Linked DNA regions of Homo sapiens: region 2 is linked to region 1. Evidence: promoter capture Hi-C in human tissues and cell types (Jung and others, 2019). All regions are on one chromosome and are shown on one strand. The core of a region is centred on a gene start or on the middle of the fragment in contact, and the rest is flanking DNA. Distances in the headings are between cores, read along the strand shown. Region 1 holds the start of MATN1 (matrilin 1). Region 2 holds the start of LINC01778 (long intergenic non-protein coding RNA 1778).

Region 1 (4,528 bases), core at 1,346-3,845:
GCACCAGTGACATGACGTCACTTGCTCGGGGTGGCACAGCTAGTATGGTGGAGCAGGGCGTGAACCCAGGCAGGCTGGTGGCGGAGGCCACACCTTCACTCCTCCCATAAGCATCTGGCCTGTCTGCAATGTCTTCAAGGGGCTCAGACTGGTCGGGAACCAAGGTCAACTAAACTGAAATGATTGTAAGCTCCTAGGATGGAAAGGTTGGGTAAAGGTGGCTTCAAATCCCAGCTCTGTCACTTGCAACTGGTGACCTCTGTCTAATGACCGCCCCTCTCTGACCCTGTTTCCCCAGCTATGAAATGGCCACCTCACGGGGCATCATGGGAATCAAAGTGTCTGCAGGCAAAGCTCATAACTCCGAGCGGGAGCCTCCAAACAGCAGCATCCTAGCAGGGTGGCGTGCACGTACCTTGCTGATGTCAGGGGACCTGGAACGACCACCCTCTGCATCGCCGAAGGCTTTGGTGATAGCGAACTGGATGGCCAGGCCGGTCATGGTGCCTGTGGACAGCGGCTGGATACGGCGCACAGCCTGCAGCAGTGCGGCCTTGGAGACATGAGCCCGCAGCGAGAACTCCTGCTTCACGGTGCTGGCATAGTTGACCATGCCCACCCGGGTGGCATTGGGCCCCACGTCCAGCGACTCGATGACCTGGGACAGGAATACCTTCACTTTCTCAAATTCAACAGGCCGAACGCTGCGAGAGCTGTCGACAACAAACACCAGGTCTGTGGGCCGCGTCCGGCAGAGATGGCCTGGGAGTGGGGCAGGAGGGGTAAGGCAGAGAGCAGAGACACAGGTCAGGGACTGGGCCTGAACACACAGAGTGCGGCTTCTTAGATCCAGGTGCGAGGCCTCGGGCCCAGTAGGCTGCAAACTTCAGCTGGGCAGCTGAGCCCTTTTATCAACATGCAGACACCAGCAAGCAACTTGCCAAAGGCCCCCTGCTCAGCCCATGGGGAACACAGAGGGCCAAGCCTGGCCTTGGGCCATTTGCTTCACTTCTCTGAGCCTCAGTTTCCTCATCTGAGCAGTGAGCTAGCAATCCCTCCTTACAGGATGTTTTGAGGAGCCAGCAGGGGGCCAGGCAAGCAATGAGTATTCCAGGGGTGGCAAAGGACCCTGCGGCCTTGAAAACACATTTAGGTTTCAGCCCAGACTTGCTGCCAGAAACAAGGGCAGCTATTTCTTCTAGCTGGGCAGGAGGGCACCAAGGATGGGCCCTCCAGGCATGGGCACAGGCTTGAGAGCCAAAGCAGTGCCCGTCAACATGGCCTCTTTCATCTGAGCATCAAAGCAAATCACCAAAGTGGAACCAGTTTCCCTCAGCCTGGCAGCGCCTGCTGGCGGGTTGCCAAAGACAGGGAAAAGGAGCAGGAATTCCTGGTGGCCACCTCGGCAGCCTGATCAGGTGCACACCAAGACACACCCCCGAGGAGCAATGTCCTCCAGAGACCCAAGAAGGCAGCACCCTGTGCTGGGAAGTATGCAGGGTCAGAGTGAGTTCAGGCCTGGGTTCAAATCCTGGCTCAGCCACTCTGTGGGGCCCTGGGCAGATCATTGCACCTTTCTGAGCCTCCGTGATCTCACATGTCCAGTGGAGAGAATAAGGCTACTGTCACTGGCCTGGGCCTGCAGTCAGGAAGGTCTCACTACAAAGGCCCTTCCCTCCCCATCCCATGCGGAGTCTGAACTGAGCAGAGCCAATCCCAAAGAGGAAAGGGGAAACGTGCAGGGCCGTCCCAACCCCCAAGTCACAGTAACTCACAGTGCCCTAGACTGGGGCTCTGGACATCAGAGTTCCTCAGGAGACCTTAGAAATCACCATGCAGCAGGCTCCCTGCTGTCTACTCGCTAAGGCTACAAATGGGTAAACTGAGACCCAAAGAGGGAAAGGGAATTGGCCACACCGTACAGCAGTAGATCAATAACCTAGAGGCTCTGGCGCTATCTCACTGTGTGGTCTTAGGCCCTCACTGACCTCAGTTTCCCCATCTGTACAGGAAGAATGGGCATTCCAGGACTCAGTGCCCAAACCTGAAACTCTGGGGGGTGTTATTGCCCCCAGGGAGCCCAAGGCTGGAAGGACCTGCAAAGGGGGCATGAGCTCTTGGCATCCCAGGTCTGCTGTCATCAAAGAGCCATGGGCTCAGCCCTGGGCTTGGTGCAGCTCCAGACGTCAGCCAGCTCTCTGAGTAGCTTCTGCTCCCCAGAGACCTGGAAGACCAAGGTCCCTGCCTCATGCATGGTCCCTGAGGGCTGAGGAGCACCCCTGCCCTGACCCTTATAAGCACCATGGTCCCTGTCTGCTCCTGCACCAGCCCACTGCCCACCACTGCCGCCCTGCTCCCTTCCCCATCCTGGATCCCGTGTGCTCCCTGCCATATCGGTACCCAGCCCCCAGTGCTGAGGGTCAGGGCCCACTAGCTCAGTAGCCCCCATCTCACGCAAGCCCCCTCACCTCTGGACTGGGGGGCGAGGCCAGGGCTGCACAGGGCCTGGAGCAGCAGCAGCAGGCTGCAGAGCATGAGGCTAGTGCCAGAGAGGACCCTCATAGTTCTGGCAGCACGGGCAGCAGCCGGCACGGTTGTGGGACCAGTGGGGTCCAGGTCTTATCAACCCCACTGCCCGCCCAGCCTTTGGGTCAGGTGGCCCCCAACTGACGACTGACGTGGGGGCAGCCCGCCCTGGCCCCCAGCCCCCCCAAAGGGCGGGGCTTGGGCTGAATGGAGGTGTGTGTGCCCTGAGAGGGCGGGAGAGCCTGGCCCAGGCTTCAGAGGCCCCTCTGACCACAAGGGCTCCTTTGCTTGCAGAAGCAACTAGAGCGGCAGCTGGAATTTGGGAAATCTCAGGTGGGTGGGGGGTGGCTCTTCCAGGGGCTGGAGCCCGCGCTGCCTTGAAGCTCCACCCCAAGCCTAGGCATACCTGAGTCCAATGGCCCGGCCCAGCCCTGTCCTGCACCTTCATCCCACACCCAAATCCTTCCCCCACTCACAACCCCAAGTTTCTCATTAAATTCACTTCCCCTTCCCCAGCCTCACTGTGCCCTGCTCTCCGCACACGCCCTGCTCTCCAGCTACCCCTGGATTCTCCTCGAAGGCCTCCAGGCCATCACACATGCAGGGCCATCTGCCCAGAATCCTTTCCTCTCACTAACTCTCTGCCTTGTAGAATCTTTCAAGGTCATAATTAGGGCTAACATGTACCTTCACTGTTAGTATGGGCAGGGCAGTGGAGACCATGGTTAAGAGCACAGACTTGGGAGCCAGGTTACCTGGGTTTGCTATACCAGCAAACCACCTGTGTGACCATGGGCAAGTGACTTCACCTCTCATGTCTCAGATTGCTCATCTGGAAACTAGGGATGGTAATAGCGCCTCCTAGGGTTGATTCAAGGAGCAAAGGAGTTAGATGAGGTTTCTCAGTTAATCCTCTTGACAACTTTTTAAAGCAGCTACTGTTAAAGAACAGAGAGGTAAAATAACTTGTCTGAAGTTACACAGCTAAGAAGTGTTATTGCCAGGATAGAGCCCCAGGCCCGGCTCTCAGCCATGCTGCTGTCTCAGTGTAGCTTGATGTAGGTGGCTTCTCCCTGCCCATCTCTTCCCCCTGTGGGTCCCTGCTTGGCCCACCTCACCTGTCAGCCAGTGGATTCAACTCTGCATCAGGCCCAGCACAGAGAAGGCAAAGATAAAGCCTTCTAAACAAAGTAACATCAGCAGGAACGATCCCCTTCTTTGCATTTGGGTCAAGTAGTTCATGAGATAGAGCAGAAAGAGCATGGGCTTGGCTACCTGAGAGATCCAGGTTCAAAGCCACTTCTGCTCCTAACTGGCTGTGTGACCTGGAGCTGGTGACTTAACCTCTCTGAGCCTCAGCTTGCCATGGTGCAGTGGGAATGGTCGTTCTTGATCTGCCTGCCCCATGTGAGGGGCAAGAGGGGGACAGAAGTGGAAATGGAGTTAAAGGATTGTCATTGCTCCAGGAGGCAGAATCCTAAGACTTGGGACCTATGCACTTCACTCTGTGTAAATTATACCTCAATAAAAGGAAATGTACAGACAAAAAGCGACTGCTGGGTGCAGCAGACCCAACTCACCGCTACCACACTCTTTAGCAATAATTATAACAATCCCTTCCACCCTTGACATGGCAGTTACTCATTCTATCACTCTATCTCATTTGCTCACCCAACAAACCTGTGAAGTCAGCAGATTTGAGTCTCTTGGCCCATTTGTCAGATGGAGAAACTGAGGCCCAGAGAGGTTCACTGACTTACCCGAAGCCACCAGCCAGTTTAGGGGCAGAGCCAAGCCTAAAGCTCAGGCCTCACTCCCCTTTGCACCAGTGTTAGAGAAGGAGGAGGTTAAGAGCATTGCCTTCTGACTTTTTCCCCTTATATTTCATGTGTGCCTAATTCACTGCCCTCCCCAATTCCAAAAACCACTTGAAGCTGCTGATTCCTTTTTCTGCTACAACTTTGAAGTCGAATTCTTCTCCAGAGATGCTGCAAGGTGTGAT
Region 2 (4,528 bases), core at 767-3,266, 100 kb after region 1:
TGGGCCCGGCTCATCTAATGCTCTCATCTTGGAGGAGCTGAGGGATGAACAGGAAAGGAAGGTGGTCCTGCAGGAGCTGCAACAGTGTTCTTGCCTGCTTTGGGACTGGCATGGCCTCTGATGGCTCCTGGAGAAAAGACTCCAAGTTGGGAGCTGGCAGGAATTAGAAGAGGGGCATGAATGCCCAGGCTTAGAGCAAGAACTTATGAGCTCCTGCTCAGACAAAAACCTTGGCCCAGCTCCTTCTGGCCTCCACGTACCCTCACCCCTTCTCTACCCCCAGGCAGGCAGCTTTCCTATCTAAAAGGGCAATTACTCCAAGCAACCAGGAAGGCCAGAACCAGGGGACAAATTTCCCAACATGACTCTGGTCTGGACTTTAACCTTCAAATGACAGTCTATTCACAATCCTTGTGTCTGTTCACAATGTTAACATGTAAATGTGAACATAGTCAATAACCACAATTTTTGTTACCCTGTTAGGGCACATCTCTTTTTTTAACCATATCCAGAGGCCTTAAAAAACAGAAGTGGTCCAGGTCACTCTCCACCTCTGACAGGCTCTGCTGAGAGATCAGGGGACAGTGGCCCAGAGAGGAATGACTTGCCCGAGGTCACACAGCAAGCCAGTGTCAGAATCCACAAAAACCCAGGACTTCTGACTCCTACCCAGGTCTCCTTGGGGTTCAAAAAGACCCCCTCACCAGAGAAACCTGCTCGTAAATGTCCCAGTTCTTTCTTTTTCCTTTATTTATTTATTTATTTATTTTTTTTTTTTGGGACGGAGTCTCGCCCTGTCGCGCAGGCTGGAGTGCGGTGGCGCGATCTCGGCTCACTGCAAGCTCCACCTCCCGGGTTCACGCCATTCCCCTGCCTCAGCCTCCCGAGTAGCTGGGACTACAGGCGCCTGCCACCACCCCAGCTAATTTTTTGTATTTTTAGTAGAGACGGGGTTTCACCGTGTTAGCCAGGACGGTCTCGATCTCCTGACCTCGTGATCCACCTGCCTCGGCCTCCCAGAGTGCTGGGATTACAGGTGTGAGCCACTGCGCCTGGCCATGTCCCAGTTCTTAAGCAGCTCATGTCTACTTACAGCGTCAGCCACCACCTTTATGCAGGCCACCCCAGCCCAGACCTCTCCCACCCAGCCCCACCCAGAGGTCTCACAAGCATCTCAGATGCTGAGGCTCCAACTCTGAACTAACCACCTTTCCCTTGAAATCTACCCCACCCGTATTCCCTCTCCCCCAACCTTTAGTTGCTCAAGCCAGAAACATAGGTGTTACCCCAAGCAGATTCCTCTCCATCACCCCCACAACCTCCAGTAAACCAGTAGGGCCCATCACTTCTACCTGTCCTTTACCTTTCTTGAACCCATCCCTTTTCCTCTCCCTTCCACCACCACATGAAGACGACCTCATCATTTCAGCCCTCATCCATCAGAACCTCTCCCCTTCAGTTCACGCTTTTCTTCGACAAGTGTGTGAACACTCACTGTGGGCCTGGCACTCTACCCTGGGCTGGGGTGCAGCATTGAGCAAGACAGCCAAGATTCTGTCACCGGCATGACTGCACGAAAACCACTTTGACCACACTTCTCCCTTGCTCTGATCCCTGGGTGGCTGCAAACTGCCCCTGAGTTCAAGTGCAAACTCCCTCATGCAGGTATTCACATTCCTGGACCTTCCAACCACCCCTGATCCTTCCAGATGGGTCTGTCATTGTGCCCTGCCCAGGCTGATCCAAACAAGCTTTTGGCCATCCTCCCAAACACCAGCTCAAAGACCCCCTCCTCCACAAAGCTTCCCTGCCTGAGTCAAGCACCCCACCTGGCAGGGTGAGTTTTGCCTTCTTCTGGAATCCCATTGAAACCCAGGATTTGTGTGCCTGCCTCCCAGACTGGGCTGTGATTCCAGGCGCTCAGGGGACTGAGCCATCGCCAAGCCCAGAACCTGGCACTGATGGGCATCAATGTGTTGTGTTGATGGATGGACAGACAGAGGGGTGGGTAGAGCAAAGTCCAACTGCCCTTTTCATTCACTCGGCCCAGTGCCTATGCCTTTGTAGTTTTCTGGAAGTCCCTCCAGCTGTCTAACCTCCCCTGCTGGCATTATGGAAGCTCATGCCCAATTGTTCTCTAAATCTGTCCCCTTCCCTTCCCCAAAGCCCAGACCGTCCTGCCTTTCCCTTGACTGGGCAACAAGTCAACAAGAACAAAGGTCTGGTGAGGCCAACCAGGGAAAGGCCAGCCCGGGCCTCTCGGGATCTCAAGCCCTCGGCCTGTGTGTGTGCCAGAGCTTCCCACAGACTCGGGAAGAAGGTGCCGGAGGCTTGCCGGGCGGCCTTGCGGTTTGAAGCAGTGAGTCACCTTCTGGCTGCAAGTCAAGGAACTCTCACTGCGCCCTTGTTTGGACAAGACGAGGAGGCGCACTCAGAGTCAGAGACCCCGGGGCAGAGACAGGGGCAAGAAGAAGGGGCCACCGAGACCCCAAGAGAGTCAGGGAGACAGACGCACCAAACGACCGACACAACCAGGGACAGGTACGGCACGCAGAGAGAGAGGAGAAGGACAGAGGTAGCCAGCCCAGAACTGAGAGGGAGAGCGGGGAGCGCAGGGAGAGGAATCGCGCCGCCGGTGTAGACAGCTGGGCTCCCTGCGCATGCTCTGTCCTCCCCCTCGCGGCTCCCACCGCAGGCCCGGACCCAGAAGTGGACAAAAATGGAGCCAATGGGCTTCCAGACCGGGACATTACCTCACCAGCACCGGCTGCCATTGGCCGGCGCCCCCGCCGGGGCGGGCTGTTGCTATGACAGCCCAGGCCGGCGTTGCAGAGGGATGTTCGGAGGAAGCTCCGGGCGGGAGAGCCGCGTCCACTCCTCTTTCCAGACTATGATGGGGCCCAGGGACCCCTCCCCTCCGACTGAGCCCCATAGACCCCCTACTCAGGCCAGAAGGGGAAAGCTGAGCTCCTGCTGGCCCAGGCATCAGAATTCCTGTAAAGACGCCCATTCGGCCCTCTCCCTCAACCTGGCCCACAGTCCCTTGCCAAGACCACCCCGCCCCCACAACCTGGAACCACACACTCATCCATACACCCTGCAAACAGCAATGAGCACCCTCCAGCATCCAGGTGCACCTGGGCTCTGCAGACGCAAAGATGAGTCCACCTCCACCCCTGCCCTCACAAAGCCCCCCACCCCCACAGTCTGATCAAGCAAGCAGTCCAGGAGAAAATGGCAAGGCAGTGTGTTAAGGATTAAAATAGAGGGAGCACGGAGGTTGTGGGAACACAGAGGAGGGGTCCCTATCCAACCTACCGAATCAGGAGGACTGCTGGGAGAAAGGGATACAGAGCCAGGACCTGAAAGAGCCAGATGAGGAACGGTGGGGAAGGGATTCTCAGCAGAGGGGACAGCCTGCGCAAAGACTGGAGGCAGTAAAAAGCAAGGAACACTCGAGGCACTATGGCAGGAAATTAGATGGTGGGGTTCGGGGTGTTGGAGAGGAGGAGGAGTTTAAAGTAAAGCTGAAAGGGGAAGCAGGAACAAGATCCCAAAGGGCTTGAATGTCGTGCTAAGGGATCTTGGACCACATTCTCAGGCAGTTGGGGGATGGAAGGGGAGAGGGCTATGATTAGGTTTGCATTTTAGGAAGATCTCCACTCTTGCAGCTGTGTGGAGGATGGGCTGGAGGGGACTAGGAGACCAGTCATTGCAGGGACTGGGGAAAGTCAGGGCAGGGGGGACTAAGGCTACCCGAGCTGGAGTAGAGATGGAGAGACCCAAACTCAGGAGGAGGTGTAAAGGACGTGGAGCCATAGTTCAGGTGACTGAGGAGATGGCACCAACTCACCTGGGAGGCTCTGAGGGCTTCTCTGGCAGCCAGATAGGATCACCGCTCTCCTTCCATATGATATTTGTGTCAGCTTGTGTATGCAACTTTCGTTTCAAGAATCATGCTGCATTGAAAAGATGTCTATCTCTTTTCACATCTCCCCACCCTCTACACACACACACACACACACACACACACACACACACACAGAGGCTGTGATTCACCTCCGTTCCCAGCACTCAACACAGAGCTTCATCCCAAGTACGCTTCCACAAATCCAAACCCCCATCAGCCCCCTCCCCATTACCCTTACCCCAGCCTCCACCCACCCCTCCCAGCCTCTGCACTTCCTTTCCAACCTCCATGCACCTGCTTCCCATCTCTTTAGTCATGTCGTAGCCACCACCTAGGAGCTGGGACTGCCCCCCTGCTCACCATGTCTGCCCTTCCTATCACCCCTCAGCAGGGAGGAAAAGTTGCCTATCTGTTGGGTCAGATTTCTGAAGACTGATGAGGCCCATTTTCTGGTAAGCGGGGTCATTACAGTGCAATCATTGGGTTGTTATGAGAATTAAATAAGGTTTGTTGCCTGGCACATGTAACTATCCAATCAATCAGCTATAGTAATGGCATTATTATGGGTGTTAGAGGAGGATGGAGAGGGCTGGTGAGGACTCCAGTGTGGCATAGCCC

What was found. Contacts are between HindIII fragments. The study calls those that stand out against the background at their distance.
Region 2: a contact is called between a fragment that was not itself captured here and the fragment with the promoter of MATN1 in region 1, in 4 of the 25 tissues and cell types used here (dorsolateral prefrontal cortex, heart right ventricle, spleen and 1 more).

The regions. Positions count from the first base shown.
Region 1 is chr1:30,720,990-30,725,517 of GRCh38, forward strand. MATN1 (matrilin 1) reads right to left here and starts at 2,596. Exons shown (of 8, transcript NM_002379.3): 1 at 2,469-2,596; 2 at 416-762. The coding sequence starts at 2,562. It overlaps MATN1-AS1 (MATN1 antisense RNA 1), which reads left to right. Exons shown (of 4, transcript NR_034182.1): 2 at 299-733. The HindIII fragment of the contact is 16,103 bases long and covers 1-4,528 here.
Region 2 is chr1:30,821,833-30,826,360 of GRCh38, forward strand. LINC01778 (long intergenic non-protein coding RNA 1778) reads left to right here and starts at 2,820. Exons shown (of 3, transcript NR_146732.1): 1 at 2,820-2,996; 2 at 4,299-4,362. RefSeq lists an enhancer at 2,045-2,547. The HindIII fragment of the contact is 5,771 bases long and covers 1-4,528 here.